4 separate regions of the Homo sapiens genome follow, and all the other regions are linked to region 3. The links are contacts of gene promoters, found by promoter capture Hi-C in blood cells and fetal thymus (Javierre and others, 2016). All regions are on one chromosome and are shown on one strand. Each heading gives the region's core, a stretch centred on a gene start or on the middle of the fragment in contact. The rest is flanking DNA. Distances are from core to core; before and after follow the strand shown. Region 1 holds the start of CABLES2 (Cdk5 and Abl enzyme substrate 2). Region 2 holds the start of MTG2 (mitochondrial ribosome associated GTPase 2). Region 3 has its middle 5.1 kb from the start of GID8. Region 4 holds the start of HRH3 (histamine receptor H3).

Region 1 (4,831 bases), core at 1,013-3,512, 520 kb before region 3:
CTCTGCCTCCCTCCACTCAAGTGGGCTCCACTCCACGCCAGGCCTGGTGCACACAGGGGTGCATGAACTCTGTGGAAGGAGGGCCTATGACAGCACCCAGTCTGCCTGGTGTCACCATCCGGTTCTGGACACTCAACATGCAGGACTGAGGGAGAAAGCTGTTTCCATGTCAAACAACAGGGCCCGGGGTTAGGGAAAAGCCCACCACACCTGCGGAGCTCGGCCCGTTGGGGTGAGCCCGCTTCCCCTGGAGTCCACACCTTAGGGCCTTGCCGCTCTGCCCTGGAGAGTCACCACCTTGTTCCATCTCTCCCGCCTTCCTGAAGGAGCTGGCCATGCCAAATGCATGGGGCCTGGCTGCCACATTTGGGCAAATCCATCCCTCTGCCCCAATCATCCCTCTGACCCTCCCTGGAGCAGCGGCCAGGCATGTCCGTGGGGGGACATCTTGTGGACAGGCCTGGGTCTGCAGGCACCCTCAGCCTGGCTACGGCCAGGAACACTTCCAAGGATGGAGTGCACCGCGACCTGCGTGTGACGCAACCTGCATGTGACGTCATAGTCTTTGAGGACAGAGTGCTGTGTTCTGGGCCCAAACTTCCCCAACCAAAGACCTTAGAGGAACCCAATGCCTCCACCTGCCCGAAGGCCAGGGGCGTGGGGCAACTCTGATGACCTCCAGGTAAGCAAGGAGCACGTGCCAGCCTTGACCCAAGAGCTCTGTGTCGGCCCCTTTGCTGCACACCTGCAGGGGCTGCCTCTGGGAACAGCCGCCCAGCAGGCACTTGGACCTGTGGACAGTGGCTCCCTTTGAGAAGGAACCGCAACAAGCAGCCAGTCCTGGGCCCAGAGCCCACAGTCACTCCTGGAGGTGAGGGCTGTGGGAGGCAGGGTCACCCAGGTCCTGTGGTCTCTGGGAGAAGGACACAGGGTGTCGGGCAGCCAGGGGCCATCTGGGCAGGGGGCACACGCTGGACAGGCAGGGCTCATGGTTGGGGTTGCCCTGGGATGGGCTGAGGTGGTTCCCAGAAATGGAATCAAGGCAGGGGGAGCAGTGGAGACCCAGGGTGTGACAGACCCAAAGATACCGAGCTGAGAGTGATGTGGGGAAGGGCGGGGCTCAGCAGGGAAGTGACAGGGAGAGGAGGGGTGCCAGAGACCAGTGGCTGTGGGATGGGAGATGTGGCTGTGCAGGGGCCTCTGGGAACAGGTGTCAGTGACAGTGCCAGGAGGACCCCGGCCCACATGCTGGGTCTGAGGAGGTGGGCATGGACGGTGTGGCCCGGTTCAAAGAATGCGAAGAGATGCACAGGGCTGTCCATGTGTCCCTGTGTCCCGGGCACTGGTACCAGTGGATGGGGGTGGGGGCATGTCCAGAACCCACAGGGCTGGGGGTCTCAGGGGTAATAAGGGCTGAACCCTAAAACCCATTTCAGAGCACTGACAACGTGGAGATCCAGACCCCGTATTCAGGGGCTGGGAGAATTCAGGGGACAATGAACCCTATGTGTGGGGGGTGACAGGGCCTGAGGAAACCCTCAGCCAGCCCAGGAACCCCCAGTTCTGTATCCAGGACTGACAAGGTCCCAGGTGAACCCAACCCCTGTGTCCTGGGCTGATGAGGGCCCAGACTGACCCTGACCCCTGTGTCCTGGGTTGACAGGGGCTCAGGTCACCTGAACCTCTGTCCAGGGCTGACAAGGCCCCAGGTGAACCCAACCCCTTTGTCCTGGCCTCTGTCCAGGGCTGACAAGGCCCCAGGTCACCTGACCCCCTTGTCCTGGGCTGATGAGGCCCCAAGTAATCCTGACCCCTAGTCCTGGGCTGATCCGGCCCCCGTCCCCGTCCCTGTACCCCGCGTCCTGGGCTGACCTGGCCGGGCCCCCACTCACCTCTGGCGCTGCCCATCCAGGCCGAGGCCGGTGGGCACCTGCGTGGGGCTGAGCAGGCCCTGGGGCGCGGGGGTCCTGGCGGGCAGCCCGGTGGGGGGCTCCGGCGGCGGCGGCGCTGGCGGTTCGCGGGCCTCGGCGGGCGGCGGCGGGGGCTTCTCTCCGCCCGGGCCCAGGCTCGGGGGCCGCCCGTCCAGGGAGATGTTGTTGAGGAAGAAAAGCGCGGCCTGGCGGCGCCGCGAGTCCCCGCGCCTCCGCAGCGCCTGCGGCGGGGCCCGAGCGGCCGAGGTCGGCGCGGCGGGTGGCGGGGGCCCGGCGGGGCCGGGGGCCGGGCCCGGGGCTCCACCGGCCGCGGCCGCGGCCATCCTCAGACTGCGCCCGCCGCCGCGAAGCGCCCCACCCCCTGCCCGCGCGCCCGCGCGCCCGCCGCCCATTGGCCGCGGCGCGCCCACATGCAAATGTATCGCCGTCGCGCTCTCCCATTGGCCAGCGAGGTGCCGCGCTCAGGGCGCTCCCCTGGGTCCTAGAGGCGGTCGGACGCAGCAGCAGGGAGTCGGGAGCTGCGCGCCTCCCCGCCGGTTCGAGTCCCCGTCTTGGGACCTGCGGCCGCGGGGCTCTCGCTTTCTGTTCCCTTTGCTGTATGGCGGCCTTCGCGGATGGCCTCCATCGAGCGCACATTTTAAGGCTCCGGACCCAGGGCGGCGTGGGTGAGGCCCCAGCACACTTCCCTGTCCGGAGGTGTGTCTGGGCGGCGCTTCAGCGGGCGCAGGGCGGCCCCTGGAGGAGCCCCACCGCTTCCCGGAAGGGCCCGCGTGCCATCTGGCCTCCTTCATTGACAGAAGGGAACGAGGGTCTGAGTGGAGAAGGCACCTGCTTGGGATCAAAGCCCCAGGCAGAGTCCTGCACTTCCTGCAGTAGCAAAGTGACCTTGAGCCTGCCTTGTGCCCAGGCCTGTTTCCTCTCTGTGCCTGGGTGCCCCTGACTTCAGAACCTGTGAGCCCGTGGCACCGGGATGGTCAGGGCCTGCCTCTGGAGCCCGGGAGCCTGTCTGCAGTCTGGAGGGGAACCCGCTGTATCTTTGTGGAGGGACTCAGGACCTTGCACCCACCTCTGTGTCACCTGCCTGCTCTGTCCAGCTTTCTTTCATGGGTTTACGTATCTTTAAAGAGGGGACAATGATTTCAGCCTCAGGGTACTGTCAGGATGAAACTGGCTCAGTGAGGGGGTCGGGCTGTGGCCGGAGGCCAGGCACATGCAGTGGTCAGTCCGCGAATGCGCTGCAGTACCTCGCACCTGCCCGCATGCGCCCAGCCTCTCCTGTGCTGGGTGCTGGGGACCCGGTGGGACCGACAGGCACAGCGCTGGCCCTAGGAGCACCTGGTGTGTGGGGAGGCAGCATGATGGCCAACAAGGCAGTGGGCGAGTGGGCAAGACAGGGTCTTCATCACCACCCCTAGCATGGGCCCCTGCCCTTCAGGCCCCTACCCACCTCCCGCCTGCCTGCTCCCTCCTGTGGGCCTTCACGGGCCACCATTGGGGCTCACGCAGCATGCAGCACCTCCATTTCCTTTCCCTCCGCCCTTCCAAGTTGGCCTCCAAGGCCTCTGCCAGGCCTAGGGGAAGGTGGGCAGCTGTCCTGTCTAGGAGAACGCGGGGCTGGGTGGCATAGCAGAGGGGTGGCTGCGGATTCTGGATCCACAGAATGGGGTGCTGACTTGTGTGCCTGGGGGCTCCCGTGAGCGGGGAGTGAGTGTGTCCAGCGCTGTAGGGTGCTGAGGCTGGGGCAGGCACACAGTGGGCCCTCCATCCCTGCTGGCTATCACCAGGAGGAGGGGCCTGACAGGGGAGGGTGGGCCATACACCAGCAGCTTGCAGAGAATCTGGTGTCAGATGAGAACAGAAAGGGGCGAGTGAGGGTGGAGGGCAGGACGCAGGAGGCAGGAGGCAGCTGTCCGTGCTGGCTGCAGCGCCGGGTCCTGGGGATCGGCTGTGCAGTAGGGGGGCCCCTAGCCAGTTCTTCTTTGCTGGCGCTAAGCTAGACTTTGAGGGACAAGGAGGAATGCTGAGGAAGGAACGGGGTCTCTTCCTGGGTCTGGTGAACCCCCTTGCTAGGCTCCCGCTGCCAGTCTTCTCCCCTCCCCAGGGTGTCGATGGGTGGCCAAAAGCCAACCTGGCCTGCGGGCAGTGTGTAGGGAACACACGGCTTTTGTTTCGTGTGATTCTGGAGAAATTAAAGCAACCTTTAACACACCTGGACTTCCCTCTTGGGAGTTCAGTCCCTCTGGCCTCTCAGGACAACAGGCAGACATGTCACAGGCTGCAGGTGGGAGGCAGTGCCCCCTGAGTCAGGCCCGCACCCCAGTCTGGCCCAGGCCTCACCCAGCCCAGTCGTTGGCCCGTGTCCTGCCATCCCTGTGATGCGTGGTTTTAAATGCCCAGCTCACCTTGGTGCTTTGGCTGCAGAGGGCCCTGCTCATGAGTTTCGCTCCTTATTTTCTTTGGCTCTCACCCTGAACTCTGAGCAGGTGTCAAGCGCAGGGCTCTGTCTGGATGCTCCTGACTGCAGGCCTGGCCCTTGGGCTGACTTCTTAGTTTCCCCCTTGCCCTGGCACCCCTCCGTGGCCCCCACCTTTCCTTTCTGCCTGATCCTTGTCCATTTTTCTAGAGTTGGGGTCTCAGCAAACTTCCCAGAACATCCTAGCTCCTTGCCTACTTGGCACACTCCTGTTCATCCCTCAGAACCCAAATTTGGGTTGCAGGTGCCACCTGCCTTGACCTCCCAGGGACACCTGCTCTCCTCCCCGTCCCCCAACACTGGCCATGACTTGGTGCCATTGCTCCTTTGCCCACCGCTCCCTGATGCCCAGCAGAGGTGTCAGTGCCCAGTGTCTCTGCCCTGTAAGGGGCAGTTCTCAGACTTCACATTTAGGAGAATTACCTCT
Region 2 (4,830 bases), core at 1,265-3,764, 750 kb before region 3:
TACCAAGAAAATACAAGAGATATCCAATGCTTGATATATGAGGCCTAGTAATAACGATATTTCTCTTTAATTGATGTTTTGTTTTAAAAGTTAAAAGTAATTCTTGGCGTGGTGGTTCACGCCTGTAATCCCAGCACTTTGGGAGGCCGAAGCGGGCGGATCACCTGAGGTCGGGAGTTCGAGACCAGCCTGACCAACATGGAGAAACCCCGTCCCTACTAAAAATACAAAATTAGCCAGGTATGGTGGTGCATACCTGTAATCCCAGCTACTCGGGAACCTGAGGCAGGAGAATGGCTTGAACCCAGGAGACAGAGGTTGTGGTGGGGCAAGATCGCACCATTGCACCCGAGCCTAGGCAACAAGAGTGAAATTCCGTCTCAAAAAAATAAATAAATAAATAAATAAATAAGTTAAAATTAATTCTTTATCCAGAGTCGGGTGCTTTAGAATTTATAAGTCACTTATGTGTTTTGCTTGAATTAATTCTGACAGCCCCTATGAGGAAATCTGGAGGCAGGTAACAGTTCCCATTTTAGAGATGAAGAACTGAGGCACAGATTAAAGGACTTGCCTGTGTTGAATACCAGTCCTGTTCTAGGACATTCTCCCCTCTCCTAGGAGACGGATGTCACGCACAAATGGGGAGAGAAGTGTTTATTTTGTAGGCACTAAGGGTTTCTAAAACCCTTAACACTGGTAAGGGCTCAAAAATAAACGTATGTGTTCATATTCGATCACCGAAATGAGAGTTCTTAATTGCTAATTGACAAACGCGTTAGCAATTTCAGTTAGGGAGTCATCTCCCTTGATTGTGTTCTTTTCCTGTCAATTTTCATAGACCTAATTTGCAAACTCAATCGGGGACTAAAATTTCCCACTGAAAATGTTAAACATTTTAGATAACTGTGAAGATAGTTTATTTTTATTCCTTGCCAATCTGGGAATATGCCTTTTTTGTGTGTTTGTGTGTTTTTTTAAGTGCTGTATTAATAATACTTTCTGAAAGAAAAGGACACTTACCCCAAAACTTCAATCTGAAATGTCTTACATTAAGAATATCTTGAATGTTGTGTATATATTTTAAAAAGCACTTTGCAAAATAGTTTGTACATTTATTTCCTAATTTATACATGATTTTTGGTGTTAATATATTTAATGATTAATAACAGAATGTTTATTTAATGTGCTGTCCATTTTTATGTAATATTATGGGGAAAGTGATGCCAGCAGTTCCTTTTCATTATTCTATCTTCTGTCATATGAATGTTGAGCAAAGCTTAGGCCAACATGAATTGTTTGTGAAGTGTGGTTGATGGTGCTTTGTTTTTTTCTGACTACTTCTATGGAAGGCCAGTGAAGAAGCAAAGGAAGACATGAAAATTGACGCTCATTCTTCTTCCTATTGTTCCCTGACATCCAGCAAATTGTGAATTTGAAAAATGATGGCCAGTTTTCAGAAGTGCTGACAAATTCATATTGGTATGCAAAAGCTCATCACCCATTAAGGTTTGTTGTTGAATCAACAGTACTCAGCATATTAAAACAGTACATCAGAACTCATGCCAACAGTCTTTATGATGGGATTAAGGTGGACAAGATCTCCTAAGATCTGTGAATGGGATTAAGGTGGACAAGATCTCCTAAGATCTGAAAAGAAACCTTAATACGCTCATATGGTTGGAGTGTTAAGTGAACCTCTGATTTTGTCAGGGTTTTTCTACGTGTAGGCGTGAATAGGGGGCACCCCTTCAAAACTGTACAAAGAAGACGACTGTTTTCCATTTCCATTTAAACATTTTTAGCCACTTCATTTCTATTTATTGAACAGGTCAAATTTGTCTTGTTATTTGTGAGTACAGTACATTTAAAAAACATCCTTATCGGTTATTTTTTTTTCAGTCGGAGTTTGACGTATAAATTGTTTATGCTTTTGGTGTAATCTCTTAATAAACTGGTTCTTCAAAAATCATCCTATAAAGTGAGTTTTCATGAAGTTAACGGGATTTTGGTGTGATGTGTTTTGCAAATACTTATTACCGAGACCAGGTAGATCGTCACCTCGGCTCCCGGGCAGAGTTCGCGTGCGTCCGCACCGGATTCCCCGCGGCGGCAAGGCGAAGCCAGGGTAAGGGCGGTGGGGACGGCGCCCCGGGGCTGCCCTGCGGTCCCCACTGCCTGCTCTGCGTTGCCCCGTAGCCTCCTCGGGCAACGGCGGTGTCCTCGTCAGACCCGGGAGGTTCCGCAAACGCCGGAGGGGTCAGAGAAGCTGGGGGACCTTGGGCACCGGGTGGAACGGGCGGGGCGGCTGTCCTTGTGCTCGGGCAGCGAGGGCGCCGGCGAGAAGCGCGGCTGCAGCTGAGCGCTCCGCATCCCTCCTGCCGTTGCTCCTGCTTCCGCTACCAGGGACAAGGTCGCCTCTCGGTCCGTCGGCGTGTTTTCTGCACCTGCGCACTGGGCAAGCCTTGGGCTTCCGGAGCCAAAAGGCCCCGGAAGTGGTCGGCCGCTTGCGACGCTCCGGAAGTGACGTGCTTTCCCGAGCCGGTGAGTGCGGGAGCGGGGAGCGGGGAGCGTGGGCCTGGGGGGTGGTCGCGGCCCGGGCGCAAGGAGGGGCCTCGGCTTGGGCCGCGGGGTACCGGGGCGCTGGGAGCGGGAGAGGCCCCGGCCTAGGAGCTGAGAGGCCTGGAGGGCTGCCGGGCTGCGAACCCCGGCGGGACCGAGCGCTGCGGCCCTGGAGTAGCGAGCGCTCGGGCGGTGGGGAGCGGCGCCTTGCTCCCCGGTCCTGCCCCACTCTCTCCGCAGAACCGCGTTTTGGGGTCAGAAGTCTTGTCAGCCACCCCGGTGGTGCTCTGTCACGGGATGGGTGCCGTGTGTGAGTTCCGAGTCAAGTTGTTAGGAATTTGCCTTGATCCAGCGCTCTAAGTATTAAACATTTTAAAGTGATTATTGGCAGTATACAGTTGCACAAAACAACATAAATATATACACATTTGGATGATAAAACAACAATAAAGTTTTGTATTGTAAACGCGCCTCAGGGAGACGCATTTCCAGATAATTCACTGTCCGTGGCTGGCTTCTGCCCAGTGAGAGCGGGTTACCCGTTCTATTCCCATTTACGTTCTCGTAGCTGTGGATACCGAGGAACGGCGTTCACACAGACCTGTAGGTGGGAATTAGAGGGGTTGTTGGGCAGTGTCACTAGAGAAATACCTTTCTTTTGTAAAGGGGAGGACCCATTATAAAAGGGGGACGGGAAAGGAGAATTCAAATTGTTTTAAACGCAGGTTCGTCCTCAGGCAGTTCTGTTTTAGCAGAGAGAACGTAGCGAAACTTGGGCAGAAAATGGATTCCTTTGAAATTATCCTGGCCTTAGTCCCTTGGGAAGTCTGTGTAGGCGAACCTCAGTGAGAAGATTCCTGCCGTAAAATGCAGGTGTCAGCAGCATGCCAGGGAGGCCAGAGGATACTATGTGACTTTGGGCAAGTGACTGAACCTCTGTGAGTCTCAGCCTCCACTGCTTTAGATGGGCATAAAAAATGTAAAGTCAAGAATCAGGTTTCCGCTGGGCGCGGTGGCTCACGCCTGTAATCCCAGAACTTTGGGAGGCCAAGGCGGGCAGATCACGAGGTCAGGAGTTAAAGACCAGCCTGGCCAACATGGTGAAACCCCATCTCTACTAAAAATACAAAAAAGTAGCCGGGCGTGGTGGCAGGCGCCTGTAATCCCAGCTACTGGGGAGGCTGAGGCAGGAGAATCGCTTGAACCTGGGAGGTGGAGGTTGCAGTGAGCCGAGACCGCACCACTCTGCTCCAGCCTAGGCAACAGAGCGAGACTCTGTCTCAAAAACATACCCAAAAAAAAAAAATCAGGTTTCATGCTCACAGGAGGATTTGAGGAGGGTTTATAAAGGGACCGTTTGCAAAGGCAGAGTGCAGGTTAATGACAGTTGGTCCTTTAGCCTGGAACTGGTGGCAGTGGAGTTTCTACTCCTGGACTCCAAAGGATCAGGGAAGGCAGCAGTGATCGGGACAGGGAGAAGAGTCACTGGGGAGGGCTTCTTGGACTGGAGGTGTGAGCCTCAGTCTGAGTGGGCAGGGAGGTCCATGTCCCGGCCTCCTGCTCCTGCCTCCAGTCTCTGGTAGAGGGCCAGGTCCCAGTAGGTTTTCCTATGGGGCAAGCTCAGGCTCCTGACACACAGCACAGGGCAGGGTGGAAAGCTGGTCTGGAAAAGCAAATGGAAGATAGCTCGGCATGCAGTATTACCCCTCGCAGGGTATTATCGTTAGGAATACATTTAAAAGTGGATATATTGGTTGGGTGTGGTGGCTCGCGCCTGTAATCCCAGCACTTTGGGGGGCCGAGGCAGGTGGATTTCCTGAAGTCGGGAGTTCAAGACCAGCCTGGCCAACACGGTGAAACCCCGTCTCTATTAAAAATACAAAAATGAGCTGGGTGTGGTGGTGGGTGCATGTAATCCCAGGTACTCGGGAGGCTGAGGCGAGTGGATCACTTGAACCCATGAGGCGGAGGTTACAGTGAGCCAAGATCCCACCATTGCTCTCCAACCTGGGCTACAAGAGTGAAACTCTGCCTCAAATAAAAAAGAAAAAAAATGGCCAGGGCGTGGTGGCTGATGCTTGTAATCCCAGCAATTTGGGAGGCTGAGGTGGGCGGATCACGAGATCAGGAGTTCAAGACCAGCCTGGCCAACATGGTGAAACCCTGTCTCTACTAAAAATACAAAAATTAGCTGGGCGTGGTGGCATGCAGCTGTAATCCCAGCTACTCGGGAGGTTGAGGCAGGAGAATCCCTTGAACCCGGGAGGC
Region 3 (4,893 bases), core at 235-2,734:
AAATGAGATGGGAGGAGGGCATCACCCCCTTTAATGCTGTACCAAATTACTATACAAACTGAATTGTTGTAATTAGAATTATGGACAGTGTCTTATCATTTGTATGTTACCAGAAACCTGTGCTATGACTTTTAACTAGAAAAACAACAAGGGATGATGGATCTTTCTTTGGTCACATTAGCCTCTGTAAGTTACTCAAGACAGCTGCAATGAACTGACAACAATATCCACAAACAAGGCAAAAGGAACTTCTCATGGCAGGGAACTGAATCTGGATGTTATTCTCAGTTCTGTCATTTTCCAGATACCTTTAGAAAGAATGAGCTGCAGTTTGTGTTGTTGTTTTCCTTGAGACAAGGTCTCACCCTGTTGCCAGGCTGGAGTGCAGTAGTGTGATCTTGGCTGTCTGCAACCTCTGCCTCCCAGGCTCAAGCAACCCTCCTGCCTCACCCTCCCGAGTAGCTGGGACTACAGGTGCATGCCACCACAACTGGCTAGTTTTTGTATTTTTTGTAGAGATGGGGTTTCACTATGTTGCCCAGGCTGGTCTCGAACTCCAGGGATCCACTCGCCTCTGCCTCCCAAAGTGCTGGGATTCCGAAGGCATGAGCCACAGTGCCTGGCCTAAGCTGCAGTATTTCTATATCTTCTGCTAAGGAGTGAACACATTAATACAGAACCATGCTCATCACTCCTTCCTCTGAGAATGTTTCATGTTTCTCTAAGGTGTCTAAGTTTTCTCTTTGAGGTCAGTGAAAAGTAAATAAAAACAACTTTGGAATAAATCAATATTTTAGTTAAGTATAGGGCAAAAAACTATTTCTTTTCTGACTGGTTTTATCTCAACCATCTTTAAAGGAACACAGCAAACAAGCCAAAAAAACGCTTGGACAGATTCTGACAGAATAAGAGTAAAGTGGTTGTACCCAAATAGGACATTTACCCTTACAGGCTCTTCACACCACGGAATAGAGACCCGCGAAAAAGGGGAAACGAACCCATAGACGACTGAATTCCTGCACCTGCTGGCGAGCACCAGGAGGAAGGTGCAGGGATGTCCATGAGGTCAGAGACAGCCATCAGTTCACACTGCATTCCAGACGCAATGGGCCCCGGCCCCATTCTTGGGCCTTCTACCTAACCTCAATGCCTTGGGAGTATGGGACCTTAGGGGTAAGGATAGGGCTACAATTGTGCAGGCTACAATTAAAGATTTTTTTCTTAAATGAAAACACTTTAAGAAGTGAAAGAGACTCCAGCAACCTTCCAGAATTTGTCCAGATATGAATAACTATATAAATTAATTCCTGCTCTTGCTTAGTTCACAAAAACAAAATGGTAAAACTGAGAAAGAGTGTGTTTGGAGGAAATACCAACAACAACAACAAAGACTGAGGTATTAGCAGTTTCCAAAAGACACCCAAATGGGAACTGGAGGTTTTTTCCCTTCAGGGAGGTCTTGCTTTGTTGACCTGGCTGGTCTCAAACTCCTGGCCTCAAGGGATTCCCCTGTCTCAGCCTCCCCAAAGTGCTGGGATTGTAGGTGTGAGCCACCCTGCCTCTTTCATTCCAATAGGAAAGTATTTAAAGAGTAAATGTAGGGCCAGGCACGGTGGCTCACGCCTGTAATCCTGACACTTTGGGAGGCCCAGGAGAGAGGATCACTTGAGCCCAGGAGTTGAAGGCCAGCCTGGGAAACATAGGAACTCTTATTTCTACTTCTACCTGCCCATCAGACACGTGATCACAACAGCTGCATGCATACAAATAACTTAAGACACAGAGAGAACTATCCACATGTATGTGTGTATATTTACATATATTTTTTGTTAATTTTTATAAAAAAGAAAAGTCAGATCCCAAACCAGTAACTGTCTATCAAATCCTGACCAGCCAGGTTCAAACTACATAATCAAACTCAAATGAAATAGTACATAAACAATGCTTTGACCATGTACATTGCTACTCAAAATACTCTTTGGCCTTTCCCACTGGTCTGCAATGGCAGGACTGTATCACCTTCCCTCCTACCACATTTGTTTCAGGTAACAGTATGCTAGATACGGTTTGTCTCAACCTCAGCAGGAGTTAAAGGTTTTAAAAAAATAAAAATAAAAATCAAGAAAAGATTATTCTTGCTCTCACCCAAACAAACTTACAAAATATTCAGTGCTTTCTGATTTAGTGGTATAATCTAGAAAGGGAAATAAAATCAGGCAAAAAGAGGGAGGGGGAAGGTCACCTATATCAAACAATCACCAGTGAAGATTCTTTACAGGGTCTGGGTTCACCAGACACATGGTGTCAGAATATGTGCAGCAGGCCAGGCGCCATGGCTCATGCCTGTATTCCCAGCATTTTGGGAGGCCCAGGCAGGTGGATCACCTGAGGTCTGGAGTTCGAGACCAGCCTGACCAACATGAAGAAACCCCATCTCTACTAACAATACAAAATTAGCCGGGCGTGGTGGCGCATGTCTGTAATCCCAGTTACTCAGGAGGCTGAGGCAGGAGAATCGCTTAAACCGGTAGGCGGAGGTTGCAGTGAGCCAAGATCGTGCCATTGCACTCCAGCCTGGGCAACAAGAGTGAAATTCTGTCTCAAACAAAAAAACAACAACAAAAGAATATGTGCAGCAGACTAAATAGTAAAATTCTTCCTTACCTCTTTCCAACATCTCTAATTGTTTAAAATACTGTGAAAAGTGAAGTTCATGAAAATTGAGGTCTGAGTGTTTCCTACCTACTTCTGCTAACCATTCTAAGCATCAACAACTGATGGGTTTATCAATTATCCTGAAAAGTAAGGTGGTTTGATTTGCCCAATCTCTTTGAAAGCCTGAAGTCTCCAGTATGTAGGGGTTTGATTTTATGCTTTTGGGTTTTGAGAGTAAAACAAAACATCCATGGGAATAATGTGGTTTTGAAACATGGCTGATATCCTGGTTTTTAAACATTCTATGATTTGAGTAAAGGAAGCACTCTATGCAGTGGTTCACACCTGTAATCCCAGCACTCTGGGAGGCTGAGGCAGGAAGACTGCTTGCACGCAGAAGTTTGAGAACAGCCTGGGCAACATAGTGAGACCTCTCCTCTACAAAAAATAAACAAAATTAGCTGGGTGTGGTGGCTTCCGCCTGTAGTCCCAGCTACTCAAGAGGCTAACATGGGAGGATTAGCTGGGAGGTGTAGGTTGCAGTGAGCCATTATCACACCATTGCACTCCAGCCTGGGCAAACTGCTCTCCCCTTTTTAAAAACTCATTAATGTTCTTTTAAGATTAATATACCTTTAGCACTCCTCTTTCTGTTCATCTCTTTCAATATGAAACAACTCAAGTTCAAAGCCACCACCTCAGCTTGCAAGACACTGGAAGCTCTGAACACCTGGTTGCCCCTCAGCTGACTGTAAGGGCCAAGCCTTTGGTTTCTCTCATCCACATGCCCACCTCTGTCATAGGAAAGCTCAGGCAGTTGATGAATCCAGCAGGCTGAAGTCCTTGTCACTGTCCCAGATGCCAACCCGTGTGGCCCTGCACCCTCTCCTGTCCCGGGACCCACCTACCTCTTTCCTGCTCTCCTGCACTCTTGGTGAGCCTCCATGCTGGTGGCTTCAGGGCTCTGGCCCAGGCTCTCCTCCTCTCCCTCCACCCATCCCTTCTCCACAGAGACTTCATGCACACCTGGCTGTAGTTGCCTTTATCTCTGCCTGGATCTGGGCACCATCATTCACCTGCTCCCCTGGCATCTCCACGTGAATGCCTCAAATGCACTTCAAAACCTACCTAACACATGCAAAATGAGCTTAGGACTTCTGACCTCCCTACTACATACTTCCAGGCTCTTCTCTGGCGTTCCCTATCCAGAGGATGGTCCCACCACCCTATAAATTCATAGGCCAGAAGCTGAGAAATTATCCTTGACCCCCCTCCCTGCTCCTCAGTCTCACCTGCTGCTGCAGCGTTTTGTGGCATCTAGCTCACTGCTCACTTCTCAGTACATAAGTGCATGGCCCTAATGGCTTCTGAACACCTTCAACATACTACGCTGTCTTCACCTCACCCCTGCTCACCACACTCCAATGTTTCCCATTCCCATCACATCTCTCAACTTCTTGCTCTCTCACCAAAAACCATCAAATGGGGAGTTTTGGCACCTTCACCCTGGACTTCCCTGCCGCCTGGAAACTGCTAACATAGCTTCTCGAAACTGGACACCCTGTGGCTTCAGGGAGCGCCTTTGAAGCCCCTGGTTCTTGTCAGACCCCCCGGCCACTTTCTTGCTACCCTTCATAGGCAGCTTCTTCCTTAGTGAATACAGCTTGCAGCTCTGCATTCTGGACTTGATCCACTCCTTGTCTCCATGGGCTTCCTCTGAATACTGTACCCATCAACTCTCAACTCTAGCCCTGCTCTTCCCCTTGAGCTTTAGATGTGTCCCACAGGCACCTCCAATTGAATGAGGCCCACGGTGAACTCACCACCTTTCCCTCGTTGTTGCACCTCCTTCTTCTTCATGATCATTCTCAGTTGGTGCCACCACCTCATCAGCTGGGCTACTCACCCGCATCACTCTGGTCTTCCTTCTTAGCTCCCACAAATTGTCAGTCACCAAGGACTGCTCATTTCCATCCTGACTGAAGGTCTCTTTCCATTTTTGCTAGTATTGCTTCCAGTTAAGATCCTCATAATCATTCACTCATTTATTCCTTCGTCACTCAACAAATAAATATTTATGGAGCTCCTATTACGATTTAGCCATAATCAACTCACATGAAGCTTACCATTTTATGCTGAATCATGACATCCCATCAGACAGCAACCACACGGACCGTGTGCTAAGAGCTACGAAGAGCTAAGTTAGGATTCTGTGCAAGCATAAAGGAAAGGCACTCA
Region 4 (4,786 bases), core at 381-2,880, 710 kb before region 3:
CAGAAGGCGCCTGTGGGGAGTAGGGCCACAGTGGGACCATGCAGCCAGGGGCCAGGGGACAGACGGACCTAAGCGCAGACACCGGCGGGACCTGGGGTCACATGGTGGCTGCTTTTCTGGAACTAGCCATCCTCATCTTACCACCCCTCCACCTGGTGTCAGCCACAAACTCTGCCCTGCCGCCAGCCTTCACCCCCACATAGCTCCCAGCACTATCTGTGTCCCCTGGGCCTGGGGGCAGGAGGGATGATCCAGGCATGGGGAACTCTGGCCACCACAAGACCCCCGAGAGCCTGGAGTCGGGATTCCCTGGACTTCTGTCCAGCCCTCCCAGCCCTCAAAGGAGGAAAGAAGACAATTTCCTTCTCCCCTCCCCCGCTGGACTCCAGCCCCTACCCTGGCGCTGGACAACCCTCGGTCTCAGCTTAGACAAGGAGAAAGCCTTTCTCCTGGCTGAAAGGGCACTTGGTTGCAGCCGCCAGCCGCCAGCCGCTACTACTACTGCCAAGCGGGCTTGGAGCGTCTGGGAGACGCACCTCACAGCCCCAACAGGTGTCTGGCGCTCCAGCCCCCTCCGCGTGCCCCGCCCCCCAGCCGGCAGCAGAGCCTGGACACGTGAGAGCACGCTCCTCCGAGCGTCTCCCCCAACCCCCACCTTCCCCACCGTCCCTTCCCCCAACACAGCTCTAAAAATCCCCCTTCCATGTCCCCTCCCCCAGACCTTCTCTAAACCGCCCCACTGCGCCCTCCGCGCGTCCTAAGTCCGCAGCAGCCTTTGTTTGGCTACAGCGCAGGAGCCAGAGCTGCACCCGCTGCCTTTGCGCCTTGCGCCTCGCCCAGTGCCCGTGTCCCTTCCCGGGGACATCTCTCCCCAGCCCCTGTCCCGAGGCCTGAGTGGCAAGGAACTTCGCCTGTGCCCCCCACCCCATGGGCTCCGGACGCCCCCTTCCCAGGCCGGGTCCCCTGGTGGGGCGTGTGCCTGCGGGAGCCACCCAGGTCCGTGTTCCAGTCCCCGCTGGCCCGGCCACGCTGGGCGCCCCTGGGTCCCCAGCGGCCAGGGGCTGGGGATTTACCGACGAGGAAGTCGGAGATGGCGAGGTTGAGCAGGAAGAAGTTGTTCTGGGTGCGGAGGCTCGAGTCGGCCACGAAGGCGAGCATGACCAGCGCGTTGCCCAGCACCGTGGCCACGATGAGCAGCGCCATGAGCGCGGCCAGCACCGCGGTCCAGGCTGCCGAGAAGCCGCGCGCCCCGCCCGCCGCCGCCGCCTCGCCCGCCAGCGCCCCCGAAGCGTTCAGCGGCCCGTCGGGCGGCGCGCGCTCCATGGCCCCGCAGGCTCACGCGGCTCCGGGACGCGGGGCAGGGCGCCGGCCGAGAGCTGGGCGGCCGGGAGGGGCCCCGGCCCGGGAGCCTCGTCTTTGCGGGCCCTTGGCCGGGTCGGGTTCCCCTGGGGGCGCCCAGCGCATGGTCCGCGGGGCCGGGGCCGGGGCCAGAGCAGGCGGTGCCGAGGGGGCCGGGGCCGGATCCGAGCCCAGTGGGGCCGGCAGCGCGGCTGCTGCAGCGGGAGAGGAGCCGGAGCCTGAGCCGCTGCCGGTGCGACCGTGCAGCCGGAGCGCAACGCGCAGCCGAGTGCGCCCCGCGCCCAGCCCACCGCCCCGCGCGCCCCGCGCAGCGCCCCCGCCATTGGCTGCCGCCCTCGCCCCGCCCCCTCCCCGCCCCCGCCCCGCCCGGCGCCGGCAGCACCACGGACAGCGCCGCGTGCCCGCCAGGCTGCCTGGAGCCCAGCCCCTGCGCTCACAGCAGCTGGCTGGGAGCCCGGCCGGGGCTTGACCGGGTCTGGGGGCTCGCCTGCGGTCAGTCAGCCCGCGCACTCGGAGCCGGGGTCTGGGTTGCTCGGCCTTTCCCGTGCCCTCGGCCCTGGTGACCCCTGCCCGGTCATCATGGAGAGCCCTGGCGCCTGTGGGGACCCGGGGTGGGGGTGGGGGAAACGCCTGCACCCGCGCTCCGGGGACTTGCCCTGCGGGGCATTTCCTCGGTGCATGTTTTGGGAATGTGGGTCTCCGGGGCAAGGAACGTCTGGAGGAGAAGGGATGGGGAGGAGGGGGTCTTGGAAAGCCGGTGCCCAGACCAGGGGTCCGCTCCACCTCCCGTTTGCACGGACCCTGGGTGCCAGCCTCCGTGTGGACAGGGCCCAGTGCAGGGTCCAGGGTGACCCGCAAGGCGCAGGCAGATGTGGAGTTACATAAGGGAAGATGAGGCGCCGGGCGGACCCAGCCGGAGGGGAGCGCGTCTAGCCTGGGCTCCGGCGGCCTCAGGCTGAGGAGGGAGCAGCAAGCCGCTCGGAGCCCAGCCACGGACCCCTGTGGACAGAGGGGCAGTCGCCACTGCAGCGGACAGACGAGGTCACTGCGCTCAGGGCGCAGGTGGTGGCTGTGTTAGCGCCTGTGGGAGGGGACGGGGGAGGAGAGGAGAGGTGGCAGGAGGGAGCGCCCCCACCACCAGACACATGCGCTCAGATACACCGGGTCAAGGACAGATTCCTCCTGAAACACTGAGGGCAGACAGACAGACATGCCCACACTCAGATACACAGACACCCACAGGCCAGGGAAGCAGCCACCAGCGCCAGGCTGAGGACCCACCAAGAGCGAGACACACATCAGACAGCAGGCAGGGAGGGAGCCGCGCCCCAGGAGAAGGAAGCAGCAACTCCGCTCACAGGAGAAGGAAGCAGCCGAAGGCATCCCTGGTGCCTCAAAGAGGCCAGAGTGCGCGTGTCTGGGGGAGGGGCTGCAGAGGGGACCCCGGGCGCTGACATGCACCGTCACTCCCCTACTTATAGCAGCTTCCCCATACTGTGGGGACCTGCCCCTTCCCCTCGCCCCCCGTGGCGCTTCAGAAACTTTGGGGAAGGAGGAGCTGGGATTCCTCTGCTGCCACCTCAGGGCTGACTGCAGAAAGGAACCCCCAGACCCGTGGCCCCAGTCAGCCCACTATTTCACGGCTTCTAGGAGTCTGCTCTTGGGGGAGGGGTTCGGCTTCCCTCTCTGACTGCTTGGTTGTACTCATCCCACTCCACCTGCAAACCCTACTCCTCATACAGGCTCCCCCACGTTCCCTGCACCCCACCCCAACTCACCCAGTGTGGAGGGACTCTGCCTGGACCAGGGAAAAGTTTTCAAGGGGAAAAGTTCCATGGAGCTGGGCAGCAAGGGGCTGTGGGGCCATCAGAGCTGCCACCCATGCCTGCTGCAGCTCTTGACTCACTGTCCCCACCCAAACCAGAACTCCTTGTTGAGAGGACTCCTCCCCAGGCCCTTCTCCTCCCCAAATACCCACTGAGGCTGCAGGAGATGGCATTGGGTGGGGGTTAAGAGGGGGCCCTGGCTCTCTCCTTCACTGGCTGGAGCCTCAGTGTCCCCATCTTGGAATGGGGAATATAAATTGGAATCCCAAGCAGAACCAAGGATGAAGGGGTCTGGAGGCCCGCCCAGCCATTCTCCCTCCCCACCCCTCCTCCCCTGTCATCCACAGCTGCCCAGGCTTCCCCGTGAACTGACCAGCCCCGGAGAGCCTGGGCAGTGCTGGCCTGAGCCAGACGACCCAGACAGAGGGAGCTTTCCTGGTGTTCTCTCTGCCCCAGAGCCTCAGGAGGGACAGCTGAGCCCACACCTGCCCCACAGCTGTTCTGAAACCCTGCGGAACCTGCACCAAGATCCAGGGGCCCATGGAATCTGGACCCACAGGCGGGGAATCCCACACAGCGTGGCATCGGCCAGGGGACCCACTTCTGCAGCCTGTCACCACAGTGGTGACACATATCCATCACACGCCTGTGGGTCACCTCAGGGCACGCTTGCGGGAAGTCAGAAGGAGGCCCCGGGGTTTGGCCCCTGGCAGTGGGGACCCAACTGTGTGACCCCGGCTGAGTTACCAAACTTCTCTAAGCTGCTGTAAATGGAGGCTACCTAGAGAGGAGAGGGCCTGGCTTGTCCCCGAGGTCTGATGATGACAGTGGCTGGCGGCCGTGAACGCCCCCTAGACTCAGCCAGACTCGGTGGGAGTGCTTGGTACCTGACCTCACCAGCCCCTGCAAGACCATAAAGTTGGGCAGGACTTGCCTCCCTGCAGTGCTGGTGAGCTCCCCCGCCCGAGGTCACGCAGGCGCACCCTCTCCATGGCCACATGTCCAGCCCAGCCTGAGGCCAGCAAGCGCACCAGCATGACCAGCAGCCATGCCAGAGGCCCCTGTCCTTGCCCAAACAGGAGGCCACTGTCCTCTGGGGTGGGGCTTGATGTGGCCACGGCAATGCAGGGTGCATGTGGCTGGTCCCTGTGTAGCCCGTCTAGCCCTGGGGGGCCCTGTCCCAGGGAGCAGCTATGTTGTGTATGTTGTGATGAGAAAAGAAAGTCGCCAGGGGAGACCATCCCTGTATTCATGGGCAGAGGCCAATGTCCCGGCAGGCTGGTCCGGGCTGGGGAGGAAAAGGACTAGAGATGGAGACAGGAGCTCTGGGCCAGAGCCATGTGGACGGCCACGTGACTGGGGGCCTAGCTTGTTGGTTTCGTATCACAAGCAAACACCCACAAGGAGCCATTCACCCTGAAGACGTGACATTAGCAAGCCTCTGTCATCGGCCACCCTCGAACTGGGATGTTTGAGGTGAATGCAGTGAGTGCAGCACGGCCCCACCGAGTGCAGTGGCCACCCTGGAGGCTACGTGTGGGCCAAAGGGCACCGACCCCCACCTCCCAAGGCCCACCTGCTGCTGCTGCCTCTGAATGTCT

What was found. The method cuts DNA at HindIII sites, captures the fragments that hold promoters and counts their contacts. A CHiCAGO score of 5 or more calls a contact.
Region 1: the fragment with the promoter of CABLES2 here is called in contact with a fragment that was not itself captured in region 3 in 1 of 17 cell types (neutrophils); the score reaches 8.4 in neutrophils.
Region 2: a contact is called between the fragment with the promoter of MTG2 here and a fragment that was not itself captured in region 3, in 2 of 17 cell types (monocytes and neutrophils). The highest score is 6.9, in monocytes.
Region 4: the fragment with the promoter of HRH3 here is called in contact with a fragment that was not itself captured in region 3 in 1 of 17 cell types (neutrophils); the score reaches 8.5 in neutrophils.

Annotation. Positions count from the first base shown.
Region 1 is chr20:62,405,023-62,409,853 of GRCh38, forward strand. CABLES2 (Cdk5 and Abl enzyme substrate 2) reads right to left here and starts at 2,263. Exons shown (of 10, transcript NM_031215.3): 1 at 1,893-2,263. The coding sequence starts at 2,254. LOC105372709 (a long non-coding RNA gene) reads right to left here and starts at 1,872. Exons shown (of 2, transcript XR_936967.3): 1 at 1-1,872. RefSeq lists a silencer at 2,180-2,429. The HindIII fragment of the contact is 20,791 bases long and covers 1-4,831 here.
Region 2 is chr20:62,180,514-62,185,343 of GRCh38, forward strand. MTG2 (mitochondrial ribosome associated GTPase 2) reads left to right here and starts at 2,515. Exons shown (of 7, transcript NM_015666.4): 1 at 2,515-2,544. SS18L1 (SS18L1 subunit of BAF chromatin remodeling complex) reads left to right here. Exons shown (of 11, transcript NM_198935.3): 11 at 1-2,001. RefSeq lists silencers at 2,144-2,333, 2,373-2,557, 2,564-2,733. The HindIII fragment of the contact is 5,602 bases long and covers 1,278-4,830 here.
Region 3 is chr20:62,930,610-62,935,502 of GRCh38, forward strand. It overlaps a transcript of DIDO1 not described here. Among named protein-coding and RNA genes, the nearest start is that of GID8, 5.1 kb to the right of the region's middle. The HindIII fragment of the contact is 6,579 bases long and covers 1-4,774 here.
Region 4 is chr20:62,218,648-62,223,433 of GRCh38, forward strand. HRH3 (histamine receptor H3) reads right to left here and starts at 1,631. Exons shown (of 3, transcript NM_007232.3): 1 at 1,074-1,631; 2 at 1-10. The coding sequence starts at 1,323. RefSeq lists a silencer at 1,736-1,845. The HindIII fragment of the contact is 16,770 bases long and covers 1-4,786 here.